Linked DNA regions of Homo sapiens: regions 2, 3, 4, 5 and 6 are each linked to region 1. Evidence: promoter capture Hi-C in 16 types of primary human blood cells and fetal thymus (Javierre and others, 2016). All regions are on one chromosome and are shown on one strand. The core of a region is centred on a gene start or on the middle of the fragment in contact, and the rest is flanking DNA. Distances in the headings are between cores, read along the strand shown. Region 1 holds the start of DPY19L1 (dpy-19 like C-mannosyltransferase 1). Region 2 holds the start of NT5C3A (5'-nucleotidase, cytosolic IIIA). Region 3 overlaps EEPD1 (endonuclease/exonuclease/phosphatase family domain containing 1). Region 4 overlaps ANLN (anillin, actin binding protein). Region 5 overlaps EEPD1 (endonuclease/exonuclease/phosphatase family domain containing 1). Region 6 has its middle 3.9 kb from the start of MATCAP2.

Region 1 (4,727 bases), core at 2,003-4,502:
CCAAAGTTTAAAAGATATGTCTTTTTAATTAAACATTTTTATTTCAATGCCCAAAGTGTAACTTGTAGTGAGAAAAAGACTCGGCTTGCACCCCAGGGGCCAGGGCAGCAGCAATTCTTTATAAGTGGTTGCCCTTTCAGGTTCCTGTCCTTAAAAATCTGTCTGCCCTGACCCAGTATTTCTATAGCATCATGCAGGAAGTACCTTTCTGGTGCATCTGGAACTCCCAGAAAAAAAGCACATTAAAGCTGGTAATTTTAATGCTTAATTTCATTATAATCTTAGATCCGTTCATAGATCATCCATGTACAAAATGTTTTTTTAATATGCAGCTTTCAGTTTGCCAGAGATTTTTTGTTTTTTAGCATCCACCGCTATGTGTGGCAGGCACTGGTCTACAGATACATATAGAAATTAACTGCATTCCCATTCTCTGCTCTTGTGGATCTCGTTGTACTAAGGATAAAATGAAATCTGGCACATAATCTTCCATGACTGTTCTGGTTTCCATTCCTCCACCCTTCCTGTGTGAAATGCCTCCCTTTTGGGAGGGGGCACGAGGAGTTGCCTACTATTTTATCCAGGCCTAAGGACCCATGAGATGGGCAACATTTGTAAAGCATCTGTGGAAAGCAGGAAACCATTCAGGCACATCAACTGCCCAGAGAGCTGAGAAGCTTGAAGCCCAGCAGGCCTGGCTTAAAGATCACGTGGCTGTTCTTGCTCTCCCGCTCAGAGTGGCATTCTCCCCTTGCTATACCCCAACTTGGAATGTCAACTTCAGGTTCTGGGAGGACAGAAGTTTGCCACTCTCCTTAAACGTCATCCACTACTTTGAACACTTATTGAGCAACTACCAACATCCAGACAATTTGAACATTCACTGAGCAACTACTTGGATATATGTAATTGTTAGATGCTTTACACACATTGTCTTATTTTTTACAAACCTGTGAACTAGATGTTTTTGTTGCCTCCATTTTAAGAATGAAGAAATCCAGACTCAAAGAGGTATAATACCTTGGTCAAGGCTGGTATGGGTCAATGTAGTGGCTGCAAACTGGATCTAAATTGACCGTGTTTAAGAAAAAAACAAACAAAACAAAAAAACCAAAAAACTAATACCTCACACTGCCCCTCTCCGCATGGTTGCCAAGCCGAGAAGGGGAACTGACAAGCACTTGTGGAACTGCATTCATTCACTCACTCATTCAACAAGTGTTTTCCTGGTACAAACGGTACCAGCTTAAGGGAGGCAGTTCCTGAATTCAGGGCCTATCACATAAAGTAGACACACAGCAATCTAATAATTCAAATGTTGAACCTCTTTTTCCATGCGTCTTTCTAATCATTAAAAAAAATCCATCATTTGTATTATTTTTATTTATTTATTTTTTTGAGATGGAGTCTCGCTCTGTCGCCCAGGCTGGAGTGCAGTGGCGTATCTCAGCTCACTGCAACCTCCGCCTCCCGGGTTCAGGCGATTCTTCTGCCTCAGCCTCCCAAGTAGCTGGGACTACAGGCGCCTGCTACCACGCCTGGCTAATTTTTGTATTTTTATTAGAAACAGAGGTTCACCATCTTGGCCAGGCTGGTCTTGAACTCTTGGCCTCGTGATCTGCCCGCCTCGGCCTCCCAGAGTGTTGGGATTACAGGCGTGAGCCACGGTGCCCGGCCAGTTATTCGTATTATCTTTAATAGGCATTGAATTAGCTTTCTTTTAACTGAATACATTCAACATTAATCCCAGAGGTAGCATTGAGTTCAGCTGACACAATGTTTCAGAATCCAAGCCTTCTGCATCCTACTTTCAACCATTATTTTTTAAACCAGTGTATAAAAATAGTTGTTCTTTGCTCCAATAAAGACATTGGAAAATCCAAATTCATAAACTAGACAGGGTATGAGGGAGTATTAATTAGCATGGCAAACACCCTCCCTTTACAAAATAATCCACTGTCTCTTAAAAAGGCTAACAATGAACGAATGCTGGTATTAGTAAAGAAATCACTGGGCAAAGAAACAAAGAGCGAGAAAGCCACGTGAAGTCCCTGGAATTACAATAGAGATAAGCAGAACGATGGGCCTTGATTTACAACATTGGGACTTAAAGACAACTTTTTGGAACAAGCCACTGGGCACGGCCAGGAAAGGAACCTCCCAGTTGTAATCCATGCTGTTGTAAGACTGTGTGCAAAGAATGCAGGGGTGGAGGGAGAATTGGGATCTACCTGGGTTTCTAAATTTTCCCGGGTTTAATTTACTCGTGCATTCTGCTATGTAAAAGAAAACATATTTTCGACTAAAATCTCCTATCTTATCAACGCCAAGTTTTCCTGCTTCCTATTAAGCAACAAGGTTACAGCAAGTGTAACAAACTGAATGTACTTATTGATGATCTTTCCTGCTCCAGCCAATCCATCCTATCACCTTCAGCCTGGCTCCTACCCTGGTCTTCAGTTTACACTTGTGCCTCGTCCCTTATCAGCTCCCCATGAGATTCCAGGCTGCTATTTTAATACTCTGTTACTATCTTAAATCGGGTCGCACCCGTTCTTCTTGTCGGTGAGTGAGGGGCTGCGCTCCAAGTTGCGCGACCACACTGCGGGGAGTAAACGGAGACGGTGACTTGATTGCCACCCGCGCGCTTCACATCGGTGGGGCCGACCAGGCGCCCAGGGCGCACGCACAGCGCCCCTAAGTGGCCGCTCCGGGCGCCTTCTCCCTGCCCCGCCGCGTCTCGCCTGCGCGGGCTCCAAGCGCAGCCTTAACAGGCTCCGAAACTTGAATCAGCGCCCCGATCCCGAGAGGGCTCTTCCTTCGGCCCCATCACTCCCACAATGGAAGGGCGGCCGCCTCCGGAAGGCCGTCCGCCCCCGCGTCCTCGCACCGGCCGAGCCCCGCGCGGGCGCCGAAGAGGTGTGGGTAGCCGGGCGCCAGAGGGGTCGGGCCCCGCCTGCGCCGGAAGTCCGCGCGTGCGCGCTGGCCGGCCTGGAGCGCGCGTCCGGCGCAGAGGGGCGGCGGGGGCGGGGCCGCGGCCGCTCGCAGGGTGTCCCCGCCCCCGCCCCCCGGCGTTCCGCGGTCGCCGTGACAACCGGAGCGGCGGCAACGGCGGCGGGCTAGCAAGTCCGGCGCCGCCTCCCGGCGGTACTGCCAGCCAGGCAGCAGCCGCCCGGCCTCCACGATCTCCCCGCCTCCCGGCCCGCGGGGAGGGACGAGCCCGCCCTCCACCCTCCGCCCGCCCGCCCGCTGGAGAGTGAGCTGCGCCCAGCCGCCCAGCCAGCCCGCCGTTCTCTGGCCGCCGTCCGGGCGCGCGCAGCGAGCGGGCGCGACTATGCCAAGATGGTCCTGCAGGCGCGGAACAAGCACCGGGAGGCGGCTCCCAAGCCGCCCCAGCCACCCCGCGCCTCACAGTCGCCGCTGAGGGGGGCGTCGGACGTCGGCGCCGGGGAGCCGGGGCCCGAGCGCGCGCCCCTGTCCCCGGGGCGCAAGGGCGCCGCGGGCAGGAAGGGGCCCCGCGCCGAGCCCGGCGCGCCGCCCGCCGGGGGCGGCCTTGGGGGGCGCCTGGCCGCCCGGCTGCGCTGGGCGCTGGGCCTGCGGCGCGCGGGGCGCGGCCGGACCTGGACCACGCTCCTGTTAGGTGAGCAGCCCTAGCGCCGGCGCCGCCGGGACGCGGAACTTTGAGGCGCTGGCCCCCTCCCCTCCCCTCCCCTCCCCTTCCTTCCCCTCTCCTCCCGCTTCCGCCGCGCCGAGCCCCGCCAGCCGGACCAGCCAGTTTGCAGCCCTCTCCGACTTTTTCTCTGGGACATTCTTACCTTCTCCTCCCCGCAACTCCCTGGCTCAGCTCTCCTCGCACGCTTCCCACCCGCGCTCTGCCTGGGCTTTAAAAGAATGGCCCGGGGATCAACAGCTGCCCGGCCTGGCCGCGGGCAGCAGGTCTGCGCTAACGAGACTTGAGCGCTGCTGATTGGTACGACTGGCCGCCTTCCCGTTATCTCGGCCTCTGACCGCCAGGATGGTTTGCTTTGGCTTGGAAACGATTCCGTGGAGCTCAAAGCAAACGCACGTTCCATGTCGTAGAGAGTTGCTTAAACTTATAATTAAATTTTAGCGTACTTTTTTCTTCCTGGCCGCAAACGCCGCTGGTGGCACTTTATTTGTGATTCCCCTCGACACGTCACTTTCTAGGTTGTGTTGTGTTTGGGGCGCCCGAGCCTTAATCCTCCCTGCTGCCCTTGGAACCTTTGGTGAGGAGGGCTCTCCTCCCCTCCCTCTGCCATTTACCAAATGGATGATGTGTAATGATGTGCTGAAAAAAAAAAACAAAGTTGACGCATTCGTATGTTTCGGACTGACTTCAGGTTTCCTCTGTTTCCTGGTTGAATTTTGATAAGGCAAGTTGTAGCAGTTTGGATAACAGGCCTAATTTTTCTAAGTCAACTAGTGAAATGCTGTTACATTGCTTTTTTCTATATGCCTCAGTGGGCTTTTCGCTACTGAACTATTTAATTACTGTTGATTTATCCCTTAGTATATTTTCAGATTCCCTTGGTGACTCAAAGTTCCCTTAGCCAGGAGTTGGGGTCCAGTATAAGTCAAGGAATAGGACACAGCAAATTGGCTTCCCCTGAGATCACAGCCACAAATAAAAGCCACTCAGTCATAAAAAGCCAGTCATCTCTGTATGTTTTAATGGGCTCAAGAAGGTTGTTCCTAGGGTACTTTTT
Region 2 (4,469 bases), core at 1,454-3,953, 2.0 Mb after region 1:
GTTGGGACTACAGGCATGCAGTGTCAGGCCTCTGAGCCCAAGCTAAGCCATCATATACCCTGTGACCTGCAAGTTATATGCCCAGATGGCCTGAAACAAGTGAAGAATCACAAAAGAAGTGAAAATGGCCTGTTCCTGCCTTAACTGATGACATTCCACCACAAAAGAAGTGAAAAATGGTGGGTCCCTGCCTTAACTGATGACATTACCTTGTGAAATTCCTTCTCCTGGCTCATCCTGGCTCAAAAGCTCCCCCAGTGAGCACCTTGCGACCCCCACCCCTGCCTGCCAGAGAACAACCCCCCTTTGACTGTTAACACATTTTCCTTTACCTACCCAAATATTACAAAACGGCCCCACCCCTATCTCCCTTCACTGACTCTCTTTTGGACTCATCCCGCCTGCACCCAGGTGAAATAAACAGCCTTGTTGCTCACACAAAGCCTGTTTGGTGGTCTCTTCACACGGACGAGAGTGAAACGCAGCACCATGCCCAGCTAATTTCTTTGGTTTTTCAGGGATTGTAGAGACAGGGTCTCGCTATGTTGCCGAGACTGGTCTCAAACTTGTGGCCTCAAGCAATCCCCCAACCTTGGGCTTCCAAAGTGCTGAGATTACAGGCACCAGCCACCTCACCTGGCCTGATTTCTTTCATCAGTATTTTGTAGTTCTCCGTGTAGAGATCTGTACTAGTCTGTTTTCAGGCTGCTGATAAAGACATACCCCAGACTGCGCAATTTACAAAAGAAAGAGGTTTAATTGGACTTCCAGTTCCACGTGGCTGGGGAAGCCTCACAATCATAGTGGAAGGCAGGGAGCAAGTCCCATCTTACATGGATGGGAGCAGACAAAGAGAGAATGAGGAAGACGCAAAAGCGAAAACCCTGATAAAACCATCAGATCTCCTGATACTTAAGTCACTACCACGAAAACAGTATGGAAGAAAACACCCCAATGATTCAATTATCTCCCACCAGGTCCCTCCCACAACACATGGGAATTATGGGAGTATAATTCAAAATAAGATGTGGGTGAGGATACAGGGTCAAACCATATCAAGATCTTCCATGTCTTTCAACAAGAATAATTAATATGTTAATTCACATAGAAGCTGAAATAGTCTCCAAACATGGCCAACCCTCTTAGATTCAGAAACACAAGGTTTACACTTATAAAAAACATATGGACCCCTTTCCTCCTGGAAATTTACTACCAGGGTTTGTAGTCTAATTGACTATACTCCTACAGCTTTAACATCTCATATAGATGATAATCAGACCTATGATATAGTATAACTAGTTAAAATAGAAATCATATTTCAGAGTACCCACATTCTTCCCATGTGCAGTTGACGGGCCATATTACAAAAACAAAATTTGGAACTCCATTTCTGTTTTAGATTGTCCACAGCTTCAAGACGAATGTTATCGTCTACAAAATGTTTAAAATCCTGAAATTATAGAAACGTGGCTTTAGTCTCTACCCATTCAAAATAATATGTAATATATGGAAAATGTTTTTGTTGAGGAAGAAAGATAAATGAGACTGTGACCATCTTAGGCCTCACAATCAGACAACATTTAAGTCATATTGGTATTTGGTGCAAAACTGGATTCATAAAAAATTACTTTGGCGACAAAATGACACAGTAGTCTAGATATTGATACTCAAATATTCTGGGTATTAAAACTCAGTCTTCTTCAGGTTATACTCCCAGCTAACTTACTTTGGGACACGTTCTCGGTCTATACTGAGTCTGTGTTCCCAGGCTTAAGTCCTCAAACTTGGCCGAGTAATAAAACTAACCATGATTTCTTTAAGTTTTAGTACCTGTTATTTCACCTTTCGGTCGACAAATCGTTTTTCTCATGTTCCTCTGTCTTACATCAATTTAATTTGTAGACCAGCCAAATGACCTAAAAGGCTAGAAGGAAACAATTTTTCCTCCCCTACAACTATTTCCTCTAGTCCTCCGGCTGAAAGTTGTTCCACGTCCTGGGCAGAGAGAGCCCCACCAGGCAGCACCACCAGCTCCACAGAGTTGGAGCGATTCCCCCAAGAAGCTCCCCTGCGCCCCTCCTCACCCCCAGAGACCAGCAGAAGAAATGGCATCTATCCCTTGGAAGACACTAGGCAGGAGAGAACAACTGCAAGCCCTTCTGCTCACACAGAAAAAAGGATGGCGGAGGTGGCGAATGGGATGTAGCAGAAACCCCGCGGCTGCGGCGGAAGGGACACCGCCCCTCTCCAGCCTAACTCTGAGCCATCTTCCCCCTGTTGTTATAGCACTTAGAACGGACGCCACTGCGCAGGTCACACCGTGCCGCGCAGCCTTCTGGGGGTCGGAGTCCAGAGGGGCTGAGGCGCGAAGGCGGAGACCGACTTCTTAGCGGGCCGCAGTTGGAATTAGATTTCTACTGGGGCGGGGCTCGAGCGAACCACGGCCTAATCCTCATTAGCAGAGAAGGATAATTACCGCAATACTCTGCCCTGCCCTGACAGCAGCTCGTGAGACCCTGAGTCTGCTGAAGGCCGCCTCCAGCCTGGGCTCCGGGCACAGGCCACACCCCTCCCGCCGCGTCCTGGCCTCTCCCATCGATGGCGTGTGGGTGGGGCTTCGTGGGGGCGGAGCTGCGCGGGGCGGGGCGTCGCTGCGCGGGGCGGGGCGTCGCGGGCTCGTCCGTGATGCTCTGGGATCCCGCGCTTCCGAGACTCGCAGTCTACGCGAGCTGCCTGTTTTTTTCCTGCTTGGACGCGCATGAGGGCCCCGTCCATGGACCGCGCGGCCGTGGCGAGGGTGGGCGCGGTAGCGAGCGCCAGCGTGTGCGCCCTGGTGGCGGGGGTGGTGCTGGCTCAGTACATATTCACCTTGAAGAGGAAGACGGGGCGGAAGACCAAGATCATCGAGATGGTGAGTGTGGAGGCTCGGCGCGCCCAGAGCACGCGAGGGGCCGGCTGGGCCGTCCGCTGGCCTCGGCAGCCTGTGCTGGGCCGCTGTTCGGTCGCGACGGGGAGCTGCCGGCGTCGCCTGTCAGGCTGGGATCTCGCTAGCTCGGGACGCGCAGCTTGGGGGACCCGGCCGCCCCGCGTGCGGCCACTCCGCGGGCTTGGTGACCAGGGTTGGGTCCCCGGCTGCGGCCCTTGGCTGCCCGTGGTCTTTGTTAGGTTTCCGTTTGAAGGAACAAGGCAGAAAATAGATGAATCGGACACAGGCTACTTTGTGCTGCAAAACCCGTTTCTCTAGAGATAAGCTGCATGTCCTGGGCAGGTGGCTCCTTCTCTCCCTGCCTTGCTCCCGCCCTCCCCCCGGATCCGCGTCAAACCGTTGCCGCTAATCTAGTTGCAATTCCCGCAGAGGACTAGTTTTATGTTGGGGCTGCCGTGAGTTAGATTATGAAAATGTGCAATATCTAAAATTTTACAAGAATGGCAATCCAGGAGAAATTCAGGATAGTTTATTTTGTATTTGAATGTATTCCTTCTTGTCTCAAAACTCCCACGAAATATCTTTGTTTTCATCTTAACTCCCAAAGCTCTTGTATACATTTTCGAATTTAATTTTTTATTGAAGAGGGTGTCTCAAGAATTCCCTTTGAGATACATTATAAGTAATTGTTTCAAAAATGAGGATATTTAGTTTCGTTTTGTATTTTAATTAGAACCCACTCAGGAAGACAATTCTTGCACAAACTTGCACGCTTATGTATTTCCTGAAATGCATAATCCTGGGTATACGCCTGACCGTGTGCTATACATGTGAACATCTAGGGTCAGATGATTTATGATAGAAAAAAATTTAAAATCTACACTAAATAATATCATTTTAGGGTGTAATACTTGGAATTTCTGAGCACCTGCAATATGTTCCAACTGACGAAAGACACGATTTGTCCTATTGGTTGTACTGACCCCAGGTTGAATACAGATGTATTTGCATAATTAAAATTAGCCAGTGTCCCAGCTATTTGGGAGGCTGAGAGGAAGATCACTGGAGTCTGGGAGTTCAAGGTTATAATCACACCTGTGGATAGCTACTGCACTCCAGCCTGGGAAACATAGCGAGACCCTGTCTCTTAAAAAAAAAAGTTAATTCCCACTTGTCTCATATTCCAATAATATTCCCTAATTTTGAATTAATTTATTCTTAAAGGGTCTTAATAATTCTAAAGGCTTATTAAAATTCATTTGTCCCACATCTGTATGCCCACAGCAGCAAATGGTTTTAACTCAGAAGTTTCATTTTGCTTTTGTTGCTTTCCTGCTTAGAAAACTTGGCTTTCTTTTGCCCAAGGTTAATAATGCCTATGTAGGGGAAAAAACCGAGTTGCCATATCTCCCTGCCTGTGCTTAAACTATGGATTGGTCTGTATACCACTTATCTAAGCCAAGTAAGGTTAAAAATCAGTGTGTTCACAAAATCCTTCAATGATACCATCATAGGAACAGTTTGCTATCTTTGTGACAAATAA
Region 3 (4,047 bases), core at 248-2,747, 1.1 Mb before region 1:
GGATGCCCATGGTGCAATGAGTACACTTGGCTTGATCAGCTGTGAGTAGGGCATCATGTGCTTACCAGAGAGTCAACTGTGCCTGTCCTTAAACTGTTTATGTCAGTTGCACATATTACCATGATCTCCTAAAATGTGGTTGTCAACTGGTGAAATAGAAGCATGAGCAGAAAGATAAGTTGTTTCTAAGAAAACGAAGATGGATACTTGAAAAGCTTCTTAAAAAGCAAGTTGTTTAAGAAATTGCTGTCAAAATAAGTGTGGTTAAGACAATTATAAAAGACAGAAAAGTCATAAAAAATATAGTATCCTGCAATCAGTTTGCTTTGCAAATATCCTTGCTCCACTTTGAAAAGACAAACACTAAGACAAATACATATGTTCGTAGACACATGATGATATCATTATATATCAGTATACTTACGAAAAATCATAACCTAGGGAACCCAAGCCAAGCTGGTTAAGAAAGCATCTAGCCTAGAATGCAGTCTGGGTGATGAATGAAATACAACTACTCTGAGAAGCATTACTGAACAGAATAGCTTTTTTTTTTTTTTTTTTCTTCCTGAGATGGAGTCTTGCTCTGTCCCCCAGGCTGGGGTGCAGTGGCATGATCTCGGCTCACTGCAAGCTCCACCTCCCAGGTCCACACCATTCTCCTGCCTCAGCCTTCCGAGTAGCTGGGACTACAGGTGCCCGCCACCACGCCTGGCTAATTTTTTTATTTTTAGTAGAGACAGGGTTTCACTGTGTTAGCCAAGATGGTCTCGATCTCCTGACCTCATGATCCGCCCGCCTCGGCCTCCCAAAGTGCTGGGATTACAGGCATGAGCCACCGCGCCCAGCCTGAACAGAAGAGCTTTTTATCATCAAACTTTGGAGTCTAACTGCAAAGACTTTGGATTATAAACCAAGTTCCACCCTCTGAAAGCAGTAAAATTTCTCAGCTTCGCTGAGCCATCTCTTCTGTATCTGTAACTTAGCTATGGCCCTCAGCCACAGCAACTGTCAGTGTTAATTATCATTGTTTTTGTTCTAGCACAACCTCTACCACCAAGTGGACACTAAAAGTACACCATCGAGTAAGGGAGAGTAGAGGGACATGAAGTATTTTGCTATCTGAAATGAGTCCTCAAATTAAAACTTTAAAAGATTGGGAATCACTTTGAAAAGGAAAAAAAAAAACCTACCCATAAAACAACACAATAATCTGAAGCCACAGAGGCTGCCCACCAAGAAAGGAAGGAAGGAGCCCTGAGACCACTGGCAGTTAAGACCAAGGCCTAATGTCACCCAAATATTGGCTTTTTCCCATTCAAGAAACATAAACTGCTAAAAAAAAAATTAGACTGAATTTGCTTAACAGAAAATATACTCTAGAGAAGTGTTTTTTTTAAACAGGATATTGGATAGATATTTTTTAAAAAACAACAACCCACCTGAGACCTCCCACTTTTAGCATAAGCTGAAAAAGACAAAGTACTAGTTTTATTCTCCAGTTTTGGGGTGAGCAAACAAGACTTCAGATCCGTAGAACATCCAAAGCATGTGCAACCTTAAATGTGGCAATGGGAACAACGTACTGTCGCTTAAGCACTGCATTTCAGGAGTATACAGCAGCCTCTAGGTAAAACAATTTAAGGCCCAGCTTAACAGCTTAATCAGGTAACGGCTGAACCAAAATAGAATTCACAGGAAACAAGGGCTCGTTGGAAACAAACAACAAATCAATATTAGTTGGGGAATTGTAGTCAGTAAAGAAAATCCAGGTTTTTCTTTTTTTCTTTCTTTTCTTTTTTTTTAAGACAGGGTCTCGCTCTGTGCTCAGGCTGGAGTGCAGTGGCACAATCTCAGCTCACTGCAACCTCCACTTCCCAGGCTCAAGCTAACCTCCCACATCAGCCTCCTGAGTAGCTGGGACTATGGGTGTGCACCACCAACCTTGGGTAATTTTTGTATTTTTTGTAGAGATGGGATTTCACCATGTTGCCCAGGCTAGTCTCGAACTCCTGGGCTCAAGTGATCCACCCACCTTGGCCTCCCAAAGTTGGGATTACAGGTGTGAGCCACCGTGCCCAGCCAACCCAGGCTTTCTTTATTCAAGAGTCTGCAAGAAGGATTCCACACTTCCCTTTATAATGAAATGTTTACTCTGAGCACACCTCTCCAGGGTTCCCAGCCACTTGAGTTCAGCAATTTGGCTGCTGTCAATCAAGACATTACATAAGAACTTTGGCATGTGTACAACACTCATGAGAAGGAGGGTGAGGAAGCTGCTAAGATTCCTAAATATTTGATGAGGACTAACAGCCTGTCAGGTAGAGCAGGACATTTTTGTGGCATTTCCTGGATGTTATGATATGAGAAGTCATCAGTGTGAAATTCTACCCAGGTATAAATTACCACACACAAACCAGGATGTCCATGATGAGCAAATAGAATTTCAGTAAAATCTATCATTTTATTTGTTACTGACACTGATTGTTATTAGGGAATTCTGGGATAAAATCCTTTGTAAGGTAGAGTAATTTTTTTTTTTTTTTTTTTGAGAGAGACAGGGTCTCACTCTGTCACTGAGGCTGGAGAACAATGGCATGATCACAGTTCACCACAACCTTGAATTTCTGGGCCTTCTGAGTAGCTGGGACTACAGGCACGCACTACCCCACTCAGCTAATTTTTAAAGTTTCTGTAGCAATAGGGTCTTGCTATGTTTCCCAGGCTGGGGAAGGTCATTTTGAAATTAAAATGACACACACCTTCCTGCTTATAAGCTTGGCATTTGTATACCGGATTCTCTCACTGTGAGGAGCCTTGTGTGGGAGGCTGCCATGTTCCTGTCTGAGTATTTTGGATCATAAGCCTCAGTGGAGGGCCCGGACCTCCCCCTCCTCAGCCGTGTGTGTGCATGGGGGAGGGTGGATGCTGACTTTCAGCCTCAATTGTCACTATGCCACTACACTCCTTCCTCTCAGACTCCAACCACCCATCCACCTGACTTGGTCCTTTCCCTTCATCCCTGACCGAATGCTGAGGTCTCACATACCTGCAGAGCCAAGCAGACAGCGACCAAGTCCCTGTGCTCTCAGGTCTCTTAGCAAGCTTCACATCCTCCCTCATCCCACACATCATCCTGGAAATACCTGCTGAATGTGTATGTCCTTGAGACGGTGAGCCCCCGACCACAAAGTGGGGTCTTCCTGCGCCCATGCCTCTGACCTCATCAGGTAGTAAGCACAAAGTAGCTGCTCAATGTTGAACTGAATGTATGCGAACCTCTCCTGATAGAAATAGTCACCTAAAGTCCCCAGAGCAAGCCCTGGGTCCATTTGTCATTGATGCTGAAGAGAATATGTGGCCTTGTCAGATGCCCCATCTGCTGAGGGCAGACCATGGCCTCATACTCCATCTGCTATGGACCTAAGTAAGACCCCACACCCAGGACACAGCTGTGGCTGAGGGGAAGGGTAAGGTGAACACCTTGCATCATGTTAAAATAATACAGAGGCATGTGTGTCAGCCCCAGGATTTCTTATTATATATGCCTCTGCACCTATCTCATAGAAACCTCAGAGCATTTCAAACAAGCTACCTGCTGAATCTCACACTATCCACAATATAGGCAAGTCTTGCCAGTTTTTACCTCTAAAAGGCTTCTCATCTCTGCCCACTTCCCCATCTCCCCAGAGATCATTGCCTTTAGCTTGAATCCTGCAACAGCTTCTTCACTCAACTCCCAGGACCCTCTCCATGCACGCCCCGCCCCCCACCACCTCCCAGCAGTCAGACTATCTGGTAAGAGGTCATTTCTTCAGCCTCTGCTTCTAACCTTCTGTGGCCTCCTCCTGCTGTTACAAGAAGTCTTGAAGGCCCCACCTGATCTGGCCTGGCCTTGCTCTGCGGCCCCACCCACCCGCCACTCTAGAACTCTGGCCTTCTGTCTGGAGCCAGCACTCTCAGGGCCTCTGCACTTGCCAATTCCTCCATGGAGCATTCTTTTCCCTGGCTTCTTCCGTGCCTGGCTTCTTCTCATCCATCAGCTTTCAG
Region 4 (4,330 bases), core at 1,355-3,854, 1.4 Mb before region 1:
CCACTTTTATGTCTCTTTTTTTCTTTTTTTGAGATAGGGCCTCACTCTGTCACCCAGGATGGAATGCAGTGGTGCAATCTCAGCTCACTGTAGCCTCAACTTCCTGGGCTCAAGCGATCCTCCCACCTCAGCCTCCTGTGTAGCTGGCACTACAGATGTGCCACCATGCCCAGCTAATTTTTGTATTTTTTGTAGAGACAGGGTTTTGCTATGTTGCCCAAGGTGGTCTCCAACTTCTGAGCTCAAGCAATCTGCCCACCTCAGTCTCTCAAAGTGTTGGGATTACAGGCGTGAGCCACTACACTTGGCTCTTTTTTCTTTTCTTTTCCTTTTTTTATTTTTGAAACTTTCTAATGTTTTATAACTCACTTATCGATCTATTTTCTATGAACACATCTAATAATTTTTGAAAGTGTTCCTGCTTTAACATGCAATACCATCTGGAAATACAGAATTCTTCTAGTTTACAATTATCTAAAACAGTAAATGTGAACTTCTACCTAAACATCGAAATGTAGTTTTGAACTTCTACCTAAAGAAGTTTAGGTAACACTGGTTTCAAATACATAGCACTCAATAGTACAAACCCATCTCACAGTGAAAACGAAGATCCTGGACTAGGGTCAGGCCCCTATTTTCCTGGCTGAATACCATATAATATGTAATGTATTTCCTTCACTCTCCCTTCAAAATGGATAAACGTATGAAAACTAATTCTTGTTCTATGATTAGCTTCCAAAATAACTGAGCTAGCCCCATGTACACTTCTCTGCTTTCTTTTTTTTTAAAAAAACATTGGTTTTGCCCTCTGTAATTTTTTCTATATTTTATTTTACAGTTGTATTACAGTATTTTACAGTCGTACTAAGGAAGATTATTATCTCCAGACTATTCTACACTCCAGGAAAAGACTAAGGAGGCTGTCTGATGCTGGCTGGGAATCAATCCTAGGATTGAGGAAAGAGTAAGACTACAGGTGAGTTTTTGTTTGTGTGTATGTGTGTGTGTGCTTGTGTTTAATTCCACCACTTCTGGAGATTAACAACCTAAACTTTAGAGAGTTGGTTCAGCAAATAGAGAGTGAAAAGGGTTCATTAAATGTCAAGCATGGGCAGTGTGCCTTCCATTGCCTTGCTGGTACCGGAGACACCACCCAAACTCAGTGGCCAGCTGTTCTGCCACCCCTGGGATAAAAAAACTACACACTACTGTAAGTATAAATGTTACCCTACTCCTTTATTTTTCTTCCCTTGAGGTTTTAAGGATAACTTCAGAATGAAGAAAATAAAGTTCAATCAATTAATTTAAAATATTTTTTAGAAGAAACCGTTCCAACCCTATAGGTTCTAGGCCTAATATAATAACTCTGAAATAGAATAGAAGGCTGTTATTTCCCCCAGAGGCTGTTACATTTGTCTCCCAAAGAGCTTGGTTCTTCTATATGCTAATGAAATGTTTGGGGCTTGTCTCCTTCAAAAGAAAAAAAAAGTAAATGTTATTTTTCCCCACAAAGTCTTTTACCTTCACCACCAGAGAGGGGCTGCTGGTTACTTGCTTCTGAAAGTGGCTGTCTAGCTCGCTTAGCATGAGTCATAGACCTTGGAGCTGCTGTGGGCCTCTCAGCCATTTTTCTCTGAAGATTCTCTCGCCTGGCACGGGTTCGCTCCAGCAGTTTCTACATAAATAAATATATCAGTGTTAAAACACAAGTTTAATCAAAGGTTCATAAAATTGCAGTATCTTCTAAAATCACCAATTGCCATACAGGATGACAGTTAAACACATTTCAAAAGTGAAATCCTAAGCAATTATGTCAAGATTCACTAAATGAGTACCCCAATGTCATAACTATTACAGGAATATTACAGAAGGAATAAAATATGTAAAGTTAGTTATATAAGATTTTTAACGGCCACAAATTTTTTCTGCTTTCATCAAAAGACAGAATCTATTTCTTCACCCTTGAATCTGGGCTGGCCTTGTGATCTGCTTTGACCAATAAAATATGGTACAAGTGATATTGTGAGACTTTTAGGCATCAAGAGATTTTACAGTTTGGGGTCTCTCTCTCTCTCTGCCACTAAGTGAACATGCCCAGGTTAAGTCTACTAGAGGAGACACATGGCCCAGGTGATGGTCAGTATCAACTACCAAACATATGAATAAGGCCACCTTAGACCATCCAGCTCCAGATAATCTGCCAGATCACTGAAGATTCCTGCATGACCACTGCAGAGACAAGCAGAAGAACAGCCCGGCTGAGCACAATACAAATTGTTGACCCACTGAATCATGAGAAATAAGAGTATTGTTTTAAGCCACTATGGTAGGCAAAATAATGGTCCCTCAAAGATTTTTTGTCCTAATACCCTAAACCTCTGAATATGTTGCCTTACAGAGCAAAAGAGACTTTACTGATGTGATTAAGAATCTTTAGATGGAGATAATCCTGAATTATCTGGTCAGGCCCAACATAATCACAAAGGTCCTTATGATGGAAAACACAGAGGCAGGAAGATCAGAGTCAGGGAAAATATGACCATGGAAGCAGAGGTCAGAGTAATGTGATTTTTGGCTTTGAAGATGGGGGAACAGGACAAGCCAAGAAATACAGATGGCCTTTAGAAACAAGAAAAGTTAGGAAACAGATTCTCCCCTACAGCCTCCAGAAGAAACACAATTCCACTGACATGTTGATTTTAACACAGTAAAATCCATTTCAGATTTCAGAGTGAGACCCTGTCTCTAAAGAACTGTAAAATAATGAATATGTTATTTTAGGCCACTAAATTTGTGATAACTTGTTACAGCAGCAAAACTAATAGAGCCACTAAAATCTGGGGTGGTGGTAAGCAGCAAGAGATAAATAACATATTAGTCCTTTGAAAACATAAAACACTTCCTAAGAGGAAAGAAAAACAAAATAATCTTATGTTTTATTTAACTAAATATTAACATATAATAAAATGGTTTTAAATTGAAATCTTAGCCATTCCATAAAGTCATGAATACTCCTTTCTACTCCAAATCAACTGATGTTCCTATTTTTAAGTCAATTTTAGTAAAGCTCAAACACAAGACCCTGTAAAACAATTCATTTTCTTTCAAATGCACACAACTAAAGGAGGTATGCAGATTATTATTACTGCCTTGCATACTCAGATACAGTAGTTAGTGCAGGCTGAAAAATTAAATTCCATTTGACTCTTTTTAATTCCTTAAAATACAGTAACAATTTTTTAAAAATCTGAGTATGTAAAAGAAATATGAGCTAAATTTGAAAGAAGGCACACTCTCTACTCTTCTTAAGAATGATTTCTAATTTAAAGTTCATTGAAAAAAGTGACACTAAATTGAAATGCTCTAATCACTGAAAAAATAATTTATGAACCAAATGGCTTCCAAAATACAAGACCTTCACCCGCTAAATAAAAGTCCTTCAACAAATTCAAGAATAAGCATATTGTTTCACAAATCCATATATGTCCGATAATTTCCCCCCATGATACAATATGAGAACTAAAAATAAAATACTAATCCTCCCAACCAACTGAACAGATCCCCTCTTGATGAAGGGGACCCCAGAGAAACCTTAAAAACCGAGTTCTCAGCCATGATGGAACAGGAGGCCGCATGCACCTTGTTATACCCCTCCTTTTGCTGTTTAAACACAATAACTGATGAGCATTAATGTTAAATAGAGATCATAAGACTGACAGAAGACTCTTTGTAGCAATAAGATATCAAATTATAAACAGGATCAAGCCTAGGCAACAAAGCAAGATCCTGTCTCTGCAAAACATACAAAAGTTAGCCAGGCATGGTGGGGCACATCTGTAGTCCCAGCTACCTGGGGGGTGGGGTGGCTGAAGCAAAAGGATTACTTCAGCCCAGGAGTTCAAGGCTGCAGTGAGCTGTGATCGCTACTGCACTCCAGCCTGGGTAACAGAGTGAGACCCTGTCTGTAAACAAATAACTAGGACCTAAGGCCATGCCAGGCAAGGGTTAAGTCACAAACTCCCTACACTTAAAAAATAAACTATCTTCTAACTGCCAAAGTTTTTCTTTTACTCTAGTAGCTGAACAAGCACTGACCTTGAGATAAGCAATAAATATTAAAACAATTGCAGCTCATCTTCCATCAGACACTGACTAACCCTCCTGCTCCACAAGCTACAGCTACAGCTTTAATTGGACAAGAGATTGATTTCAATAAATCTATCTCAGTAAGAAGACCACCAACCATGAACTGATTCTGGCCAGTTTACAGAGGCTGCTCACTTGAATGCCTTCATGTCCCCACCTCACCTTTTGACATATAGGGCCCAAC
Region 5 (4,297 bases), core at 1-2,500, 1.2 Mb before region 1:
TAGGACATGCCCTAGCCCTGCATCCCCAAGGGCAAGTGCAGAAACACAGGGTCAGAGTTTGTCTCTGGGCATCACAGCACTGCTCAGCTGCTCAGGGCTTAGCAATCTTGCCCTTCCATTTGTCATGGCAACCAACATCAACACTGCCAGGAAGGGAAGGGGTATAGGGGAAGCCCCCAGGAAGTGGAGGGTGCCCGTCTTATCTTACGGATGTGGTCCCAGTTTGCCAGCAACCAGGACCAAGAGCTCTGCAGCTGCAGCTCTGCCTGCTAGAGAAAGCATCTTAAGGCTGGGTGGGGGGCACAGTGCCTGAGGAGATGAGCCCCATCTCTGTACTGCACCAACTGCCAGGCCTATAATGTGACATGAAGTACAAGAGGCCAAGTGCCTGTTTAGGGGGCTGCTTTATTTAGAGGATTTGGGCTAACCAGCATTTTCTCATTATACCCTTAAAAACAGCCTGCGTTGTGGTAATACTGGATTATCAGTATCACCCATAGGGTTACATGGCCATAACCCCAGGTGGCCAACACTGGAACAGGAACTTGACATAAAAAAAGGGCCCAGGGTGGTGTTAGGAGGCTTAAAGGTGATACCTGGCTGACTTACACGTCAGTACCACAGATACAACCCATGGACACCCCCAGGTGTACATGTGCAGACAGAGCCCCATCAATATCACAGACAGAGGAATGAGAGGGGCTGCTGGGTGTGACAGATACCCCCAGGGTGAGCACACACCCACCCTCATCAACTCACAGTGTGCAAGGTGGCACAGGGCCTTGTAGCCTCAACACAGGGGCTGCTCCCAACCCTCAGCTGGCAGATACTCCCTGGGCTGGGGTTTGAGGTGACTGTCAGGTTCAAGAACTGCTCTGGAGCACACAGAAAGCAGGGGGTCTCCATGCCCAGGAGGGGATACGCTTGCTGAGCTCCAAGGCACCGGACCTGCTTGCCTGGCCTGTGAGCTCATGGTCAAGGACCACGGGGATAAGGCTCACTGACTGCCAACTTCATGACCTGCTTTGGCTTCTGCTGTCCAGCTGCTGACCATTTTGCGGTTCATTAACACTTCCCAAGGGCATCCGGGGAGAACCAGAGAGACTGCGCTCGATCAATCTGCTGAGCTGCTCCCAGATGCTGGGGGGACAGAGATTCCCACATGGGCGATGCCAGTGACAGGACTGCCCCTGGCCCACAGCCCAGAGCTCCTCCTGAATCCCCTCCAAACCCAAACCACCCCTTGAGAGGCCTTTCTCCCTGGTAATAAAGGAATCGGGCCTGAGATGCAGCCGATAAGAAGGGGCTCCTCAGGCCAGTTCTGCTGCCCTTGAATCCAGCCATTCCCTAACACCTGGCCTTGTGAACCAGTGCCAGGAAGGTGAAGGATCACTGAAGGGGCTTTTGGAAAGTAGGCCATCCGGATAATCCCCCAAATTCTGTATGTCTGAGGTGGGGTCTAGGAATCCCTGACTGTAGGAAAATCTCCCCAGGAGACTCTAATGAGGGTCAGGTTTAGGAGCTATACCAAATCTCCCTCCTTCCCCCCTCTCCTGCTCAGATGCCAGAGTTACTGGGGCTGTCTCAAAATCCCTTTCATTCCTGCCCTGGACAAGTTCACCTGCCAAGGAAGCCCCAGGAGAGACAAAAATCTCCAATCATGAGAGGCTGAAATCAAGGCAAAAAGACGAGACTTCTCTTACTCATGCTATTACAAAATGAGCCCTTTTCTTTCCTTTTTAGAAAGAAGCAGATTCCACGTCACAGACGGCGTGGAGCGGGTACCTTGAACCTCCCGAGGTATGGGCTGGGGCCCGCCAGCTTCCCGTGCCCGTTGCTTGGCGAGCTCTCCTGTGAACCCGCGTCTCTCAGCTCCATGCCGGCAGCCGCGTCCCATAGGAATCCTGCATACCCAGCTCCCTGCAGCGGAGAGGGAGACAGAGTCTTGGTGCCAGAGCCCTAGCGCCACCTGGGGAAAGGAGGCAGAGAGGCCAGAGAGACCGAGAGGCAGTAGGCCCTACTCTGGCTCAAGCTGTTTCTAAACCAAAAGCACACCACGAAAGCCACAGCCACTCTCCCTTGCCCTTCCCCAGCCCAAATAATTTCACATATTGCCAATTTCAGAGCTTTCCATACAGACAGGGTGGCCTGGGCTCTTCTGTCTTTGGGGGGAGGTGGGTGAAGCCCCGGCTAGGCACAGAGATATCTTCAGAATCATCACATCCCATGAGGTAGCAATTCATGCTTCCATTTCCCAGATGAGGACACTGCTGCTCAAAGAGGTTAAGTGACTTTCCTGAAATCCCACAGCTGATCACAATGCTGAGACTAAAACATATAACTCCAAGGGATGGGTTTTGCTTACTGATTAGCTGCAGCTTACAAAAATGGTGCCTGGCACCTAGTAAGAGCCCACTCAGTGTTTTCTGGGTGAGTGGAGGTCGCAGTTGACCTAATGGCTTGGGGCTGCTCGAGGGCCCTCCGCAGGTGGATGGGGCCATGGCAGAGGTGTGAAGCTTAGGTCAGAGGTGCCAGGGCTGGCGGTGGGGCAGAGTCCTAGTGCCTAGTGTTAAACCCTGCTGCTCTGAATATGCCTGCTTTGCGCTGCTGCCGCCGCCACTGGGGGCTTGTGGAAGAAGACACACTTCTCCTTTCTACCCCACCACAGCCTCTGCTGTCCATGAGAATGCTTCCTCAGCACCCGCTGCCTGGGAGCCATCTGCATGTCATTTGAGAGGCCAGCAGTGCTCATCACCACTCTTCCCCATTGCAAAAGGAGGGGAAGTGACTCTGCACAACCACCCTCCTGAGCAGCCACCACAAAGTCCCCAAGGTCAGCTCTGGTCTAAGCCACATGCCTTGTCTGAACATGCGTGTTTTTAGGAGGAGGGAGGGAGGGAATGAATGTATTGTATGCTGTGCACTTCTATATTTGAAATTATCTCCTTGCCCACCCCCTGGAGAGTGTGCTGGTTTGAGAACGAGAAGACCTGGGCCTCAGTCCCACCTGAGTCACTTAGCCGCGGGACCCTGGGCGACCCACTCAGTTTTTCTAAACCTCAGCTTCCTCTGGTTTGGAGGGAGGTATGACTGCCCTGCTGGCTTTGGAGGATTATCTCTCCATCTGCCATTTCCCAAGTCATGGTGCCAGAGTAACTTACCTAAAGCATCACTCGAGTCATCTTCCGCCCAAAAGCCTTCAGGGGCTCCCCGATGGCCCTGGAGGGGAAGCCTCTGCGGTGGGGCCTACTCCTTCCTCTGCCTCCCTCACCTGCTCAGCACTGTTTTCCCCACCCCCACTTCCCTGCGTGCTGCTCCTTCCACCGCTGGTTTCTTGCCCCTCCTGGGAGCCTTTCCCAATGCCCCTGACCTAGGCGCTCCCCTCTCCTCCAGAACAGCAGCCGGAGGAACAGGGTTTCCAGACAGAGAGAGTGAACTGGGCTCAGGTCCGAGCACCTCACATTGCAAAAGGGTGGCTTGTGGGCAAATCATTTCATCTTACTAGGTCTTCACCTTCACAGCTGGAAACCACCCCTCTGGCTATCGTGTAAGCCCTAGGGAGCTGGGGAGAAGATGCCTGGGGCAGAATTTCAGGCATCGGAGAAATGGCCCACTTTCTTATGTTTGTCTAGGGACAGAGATTGAACATTTTCAACCTGCAGATATATTCTGTTTGATTCACATAGTGTTTAAATTTTTTTGGATTATCTGTTCATCTTTAAAATTCAGGAAATTTCCCATTAAAATGAAACTGGGAGGTTTGGCCACATTGGGCCCACAATACTGCAGGGTAACAACTGGGTAGACATGGACCCAGCAGCAGCCAGAGCCAGGCATGAGCTCTCTCAGTCCACTGCAGGCGGCCAGCCTGCCACCTCATGCCCGTTCCGCCTGGCCCTGGCCTGCGCTACGTTCATGATGCATTCCAATGCATAGTATCTTTTAAAATCCTATAGCCACCCTATAGGTGAGCTAAGAAAGGGCTATCGCTCCCATTTTACAGATGAAGGAATTGAGGCCGAGAGGTTTTGGTGGATGGAACTCGGGTCTCCCTGCAACCTCATGTTGTTTTCCAATGGCCTTGACACCCTGACCTGGAATGGGGTTACCTGTCTTGCTCTCCAACAGGCTGTGCACTCCCTGCGGGAGGGGCCAGGTCAGGCTCCAGCCGGGATCCCCACTGTGTCTTGCAAAGAGTGAAAACATGCAGGCATGGAGTTTTTCTCACCAGTGTGTACCTGGCATGAAACAATATGCCTGGTACATAGCCACCTTTCATTAATGATTTGTTGAATGA
Region 6 (4,138 bases), core at 810-3,309, 1.3 Mb before region 1:
TGTTGTTTTTTTCTCCCAGTATAAGTTCTATGAGAACTGGGACTCTGATTTACTTACCCCAGCATCCCTGTCATATGTGCTAAAGGACTGATTGATGCATGTACATCATTTTTATTGCCCTCTTTTTTTTTTTTTTTTTTTTAGATGAAGTCTTGCTCTGTTGCCCAGGCTGGAGTGCAGTGGCACCATCTTGGCTCACTGCAACCTCCGCCCCTGGGATTCAAGCAATCCTCCTGGCTCAGCCTCCCGAGTAGCTGGGACTACAGGCATGCACCACCACACCTGGCTAATTTTTGAATTTTTAGTACAGACAGGGTTTTACCATGTTGGCCAGGATGGTCTCGAACTTCTGACCTCAGGTGATCCGCCCACCTTGGCCTCCCAAAGTGTTGGGATTACAGGCGTGAGCCACCATGCCCAGCCATCATTTTTACATATGTATGTACATACCATCAGTAAGTTCTTTGAAGGTAGGTTTCATATCTTTTTCATCATCTTTTTACCTTGTATATAATAGGAACTTAAATATCTGTGGAAGGAGTAAGTTAATGCACATCTTGGTTTCTCCAAAATATAATAAAGAGCAGTATCTTTTTGGCTGATTAAAAAACATCCTTCCTCCCTTAATCATTTCCAACAAACATTAAAAACATCATTTACACACATGTAAAATCACAGTGTTCCCCAGGGTTTTTGTGCTGTTCTATTTTCATTGAGGTAAAAAGGCAGAGGCGTTTCACAAAGCATTCTTTTATTTGGCTTCTACTTAACGCTTTTCATTCTCCTGAATATAGACATGCTGCAAAACATTCCATTCTCTTGATATAGACATCCTGAAAGCATTCAAACTTCGCTGAAATTTTTTTTAAAGCCAAGGAAAAACCAATTCTACCAACTATTTCCTAGATTTCTTTTTTTTTCCTCCTCTTTTATGAATCAAGAAACAATGTTCACAGTTTGCCCTGAGGCGTCTGGTAATGCTTATCAGAATCTGAGGTATTGCAACTAGAGTTGCTCTGTTCTTTTATAATGGTAGGCTGCAGAAGCTTCCCTCCCCATTTTTTAAGTTTCTCATCTGAAACTTACAAGTAAGTAAATATAATGTTCTAATTCTTTTTGTGTTAATAAGATAAAAACCTCTTTTTAAGAAATTAAACTTTTTTTTTTTCAGTTGCAAGCATGATATGCTCTCAAAAAACTGAACTTCTGCTATAGAAAGTGAAGTATTACAGACTGGGCATGGTGGCTGACACCTTTAATCCCAGCACTTTGAGAGGCTACAGAGGGAGGATTGCTTGAGGCCAGGAATTTGAGACCAGCCTGGGCAACAAAGCAAGACCCCATTTCTATAAAAAGTGCCTGTGGTCCCAGCTACTTGGAAGGCCAGGGTGGGAGGATCGCTTGAGCCCAGGAGTTATGATCGCGCCACTGCACTCCAGCCTGGGCAACAGAGTGAGACCCTGTCTCTGGAAAAAACAAAACACAAAAAAAACCAAAGTGAAATAATATACTTTTCTTCCAGTAGCAACACTTTCTGGCAGCCTTGTCCATGCTTTACCATCTCTCTCTTCCTCTTTCTTGGTCTTTACTAGCCTCTATCCCCTATCAAGGTAAATGATCAAACTTCTCCTGAGTCTTTAACAAGCAGGATGTTGATCTTTTTTTCAAAAAAGAAAATGATCTTCTTTTATTACACAGATGGTTTAACTTACTTTTTTTAATACCAAAACTCCATCAACTTATGAATAGTAAATAAACATTTGTCAACATCTGTTCTACTATGTAAGAAGAATATAGAGATTAACATGAGTAGTTAAACAAGTTACTGACAAAATAAAAAAATACTGGCTCACATCTGTAATCCTAGCATTTTGGGAGGCGGAGGCAGGCAGATTGCTTGAGTCCAGGAGTTCAAAACCAGCCTGGCAACATGGCAAAACCCCATCTCTACAAAAAAATACAAAAAATTCGCCTGGCCTGGTGGCACATGCCTGTAGTCCCAGCTACTTGGGAGGCTGAGGCTTAGGTAAGAGGATTACCTGAGCCTGGGAGGTTGAAGCTCCAGTGAACCATGATCATGCCATTGCACTCCAACCTGGGCAACAGAGTGAGACCCTGTCCCAAAACAAAAAATGAAATAAAATAAATACGTTCTTTACCTATAACATAACAATCCTGCTACAAATAAAATAACAATATTTCTATCAAAACACCTATTTTTCTATTATTTTAAATCTAAAATTAAATGGAAATCATCCTTACAGATATTCATTAATCAAAATGTTCCACAATACAATGCTTCTAGAATTCATAAAGATGACCATAAAAGGAAAGTGAGTATATCTCAGTAAGACAACTGCAATGGCATTTTTGGTTATTATTGAAAAATTTAAGTTTAATAAAACTTTAAAAAGGGTGAAGGACATCCTTAAAGATAAACATAAATTATTAAAATCAGTTTTAATGGCGAGGCGTGGTGGCTCACGCCTATAATCCTAGCACTTTGTGAGGCCAAGGTGGGTGGATCACCTGAGGTCAGGAGTTCGAGACCAGCCTGGCCAACATGGTAAAACCCTGTCTCTACTAAAAATACAAAATTAGCCGGGTGTGGTGGCGCATGCCTGTAATCCCAGCTACTTGGGAGGCTGAGGCAGGAGAATCACTTGAACCCAGGAGGCAGAGGTTGCAGTGAGCCAAGATTGCGCCACTGTACTCCAGCCTGAGCAAAAAAAAGAGCGAAACTCCATCTCAAAAGGAAAAATAAATAAATAAAAATAAAAAACAAAAGCAGTTTTAACAAATTCCTAACTTGATCTTGAAATCAGTGCCCTAAAAATGGAGCAGTAATATAATTAAGTCGATCATCTTGTCTCAATATTAATGGTTAATATAGAAACAGGTATAAAGGAAAGTTTCTCAGAAAGATGAGATTGTTCATTGTTCTTGTGGATATGTAAAAACAATGCTGACTCAAAAGCAGCCAACTGGACAGCTGCAGATGCTGAACCCAATGGAAACACTAAGCAGGCATAGCACGAATCAGTAATTAACAAAGCAGATGCAGAAAGCTTGATGAGGATGAATAATTGCATAGATGGGAATAGTAAAAGGAGCTGGTAACAGTACAAGTTTTATAAGAAGTTAGATAAACTCTTTGTATTCATGAATTTGTTAGCAAGAGTGCTTCAATAATACACAGAGATATATTTTTTAAATGTTTTGATTACATTATAAATACCTTTATATGGTGCTTATCACTAAAGATATTTAAAAATTATCCACAAGAAAATATTGGTAGGGTGAACATAAAAATAATTATAAAAGTAAAGAATGATATAATATTCCAGGTAGGCTAACTACAGAGGCATCAAATTTGTTTATTTTTGGAATTCTTAATTGTAGTGAAGTGTTGAAATTAGAATGCACATCATTTTCTAATTTTTATATGTATGTATACATGTATATATATATACACACATATATGTATTTTATAGAAAATCTTCCCTGCTAGTCAGGACTGTCCTTGAGGATAGGTATCATCTTTTGTTATGTACTCCAAAAACACCAAGCCCAGTGTCTTCTATATAAATAAATACCTGTGGAATGAGGAAGATAATATGTATCTTGGTTACTTAAAATATAATGAAAATAGGCAATATGATTAAACATACTTTAGTAAAAGCACTGAACATATGACTTGGTAACATCTTTTAGGAGGCTTTCTTTTTTGAGAAATAGCTCTTAAACTGCAGTGACTGTGACTTTAAAAACTAGAAATTTGTAGAGGTAATAGATGCATTTATAGCAAACTTGGAAAACAGCTTTCAGAATTCTGGGTATATAAGGAAGCCAACAGCATGGTTAATTTAGAGCCTTTTTCCTTAGGACATATGTTGCAAGAATTACTACTCTTACAAATGCAGCAGATTCATTGCTCATTACTATAGCAAGTGTTTTAACTCAAAGCAGATTTGTTCTTCGTCTATTGGTCCATTTGATATAATTCTATATTATTTTAGTTATCATTGAAAATGCACACACTTTCTGTTGTCTACTTATTCATTAATTCACAAATATTTATTAAGGACCTACTACATGCCAGCCACTCTTCTTGGTGTGGGAATATAGCAGTGAACAA

Evidence for each region. Contacts are between HindIII fragments. The CHiCAGO score rates a contact against its expected background, and 5 or more counts as called.
Region 2: the fragment with the promoter of NT5C3A here is called in contact with the fragment with the promoter of DPY19L1 in region 1 in 1 of 17 cell types (total CD4 T cells); the score reaches 7.0 in total CD4 T cells.
Region 3: a contact is called between a fragment that was not itself captured here and the fragment with the promoter of DPY19L1 in region 1, in 2 of 17 cell types (naive CD8 T cells and total CD8 T cells). The highest score is 5.9, in naive CD8 T cells.
Region 4: a contact is called between a fragment that was not itself captured here and the fragment with the promoter of DPY19L1 in region 1, in 1 of 17 cell types (total B cells). The highest score is 5.5, in total B cells.
Region 5: a contact is called between a fragment that was not itself captured here and the fragment with the promoter of DPY19L1 in region 1, in 3 of 17 cell types (total CD8 T cells, activated CD4 T cells and non-activated CD4 T cells). The highest score is 5.7, in total CD8 T cells.
Region 6: a contact is called between a fragment that was not itself captured here and the fragment with the promoter of DPY19L1 in region 1, in 1 of 17 cell types (total B cells). The highest score is 6.2, in total B cells.

What each region holds. Positions count from the first base shown.
Region 1 is chr7:35,036,010-35,040,736 of GRCh38, reverse strand. It overlaps DPY19L1 (dpy-19 like C-mannosyltransferase 1), which reads left to right and starts at 3,252. Exons shown (of 22, transcript NM_001366673.1): 1 at 3,252-3,640. The coding sequence starts at 3,343. It overlaps LOC105375228 (a long non-coding RNA gene), which reads right to left and starts at 3,951. Exons shown (of 3, transcript XR_001745162.3): 1 at 3,816-3,951. RefSeq lists an enhancer at 2,413-2,642 and silencers at 2,693-3,362, 3,393-3,562. The HindIII fragment of the contact is 4,166 bases long and covers 680-4,727 here.
Region 2 is chr7:33,061,010-33,065,478 of GRCh38, reverse strand. NT5C3A (5'-nucleotidase, cytosolic IIIA) reads left to right here and starts at 2,703. Exons shown (of 9, transcript NM_001002010.5): 1 at 2,703-2,911. The coding sequence starts at 2,774. It overlaps LOC124901610 (a long non-coding RNA gene), which reads right to left and starts at 2,294. Exons shown (of 4, transcript XR_007060279.1): 1 at 1,831-2,294; 2 at 1,332-1,450. RefSeq lists an enhancer at 2,189-2,348 and silencers at 2,589-2,708, 3,009-3,068. The HindIII fragment of the contact is 6,622 bases long and covers 1-4,469 here.
Region 3 is chr7:36,160,398-36,164,444 of GRCh38, reverse strand. All of the region lies in intron 2 of EEPD1 (endonuclease/exonuclease/phosphatase family domain containing 1), which reads right to left. Among named protein-coding and RNA genes, the nearest start is that of EEPD1, 9.2 kb to the right of the region's middle. The HindIII fragment of the contact is 2,559 bases long and covers 218-2,776 here.
Region 4 is chr7:36,393,611-36,397,940 of GRCh38, reverse strand. It overlaps ANLN (anillin, actin binding protein), which reads right to left. Exons shown (of 24, transcript NM_018685.5): 2 at 1,522-1,675. Among named protein-coding and RNA genes, the nearest start is that of ANLN, 5.9 kb to the right of the region's middle. The HindIII fragment of the contact is 5,776 bases long and covers 1-4,330 here.
Region 5 is chr7:36,282,309-36,286,605 of GRCh38, reverse strand. EEPD1 (endonuclease/exonuclease/phosphatase family domain containing 1) reads right to left here. Exons shown (of 8, transcript NM_030636.3): 5 at 1,786-1,920. Among named protein-coding and RNA genes, the nearest start is that of MATCAP2, 83 kb to the left of the region's middle. The HindIII fragment of the contact is 2,536 bases long and covers 1-2,518 here.
Region 6 is chr7:36,369,108-36,373,245 of GRCh38, reverse strand. It overlaps a transcript of MATCAP2 not described here. Among named protein-coding and RNA genes, the nearest start is that of MATCAP2, 3.9 kb to the right of the region's middle. The HindIII fragment of the contact is 2,022 bases long and covers 1,049-3,070 here.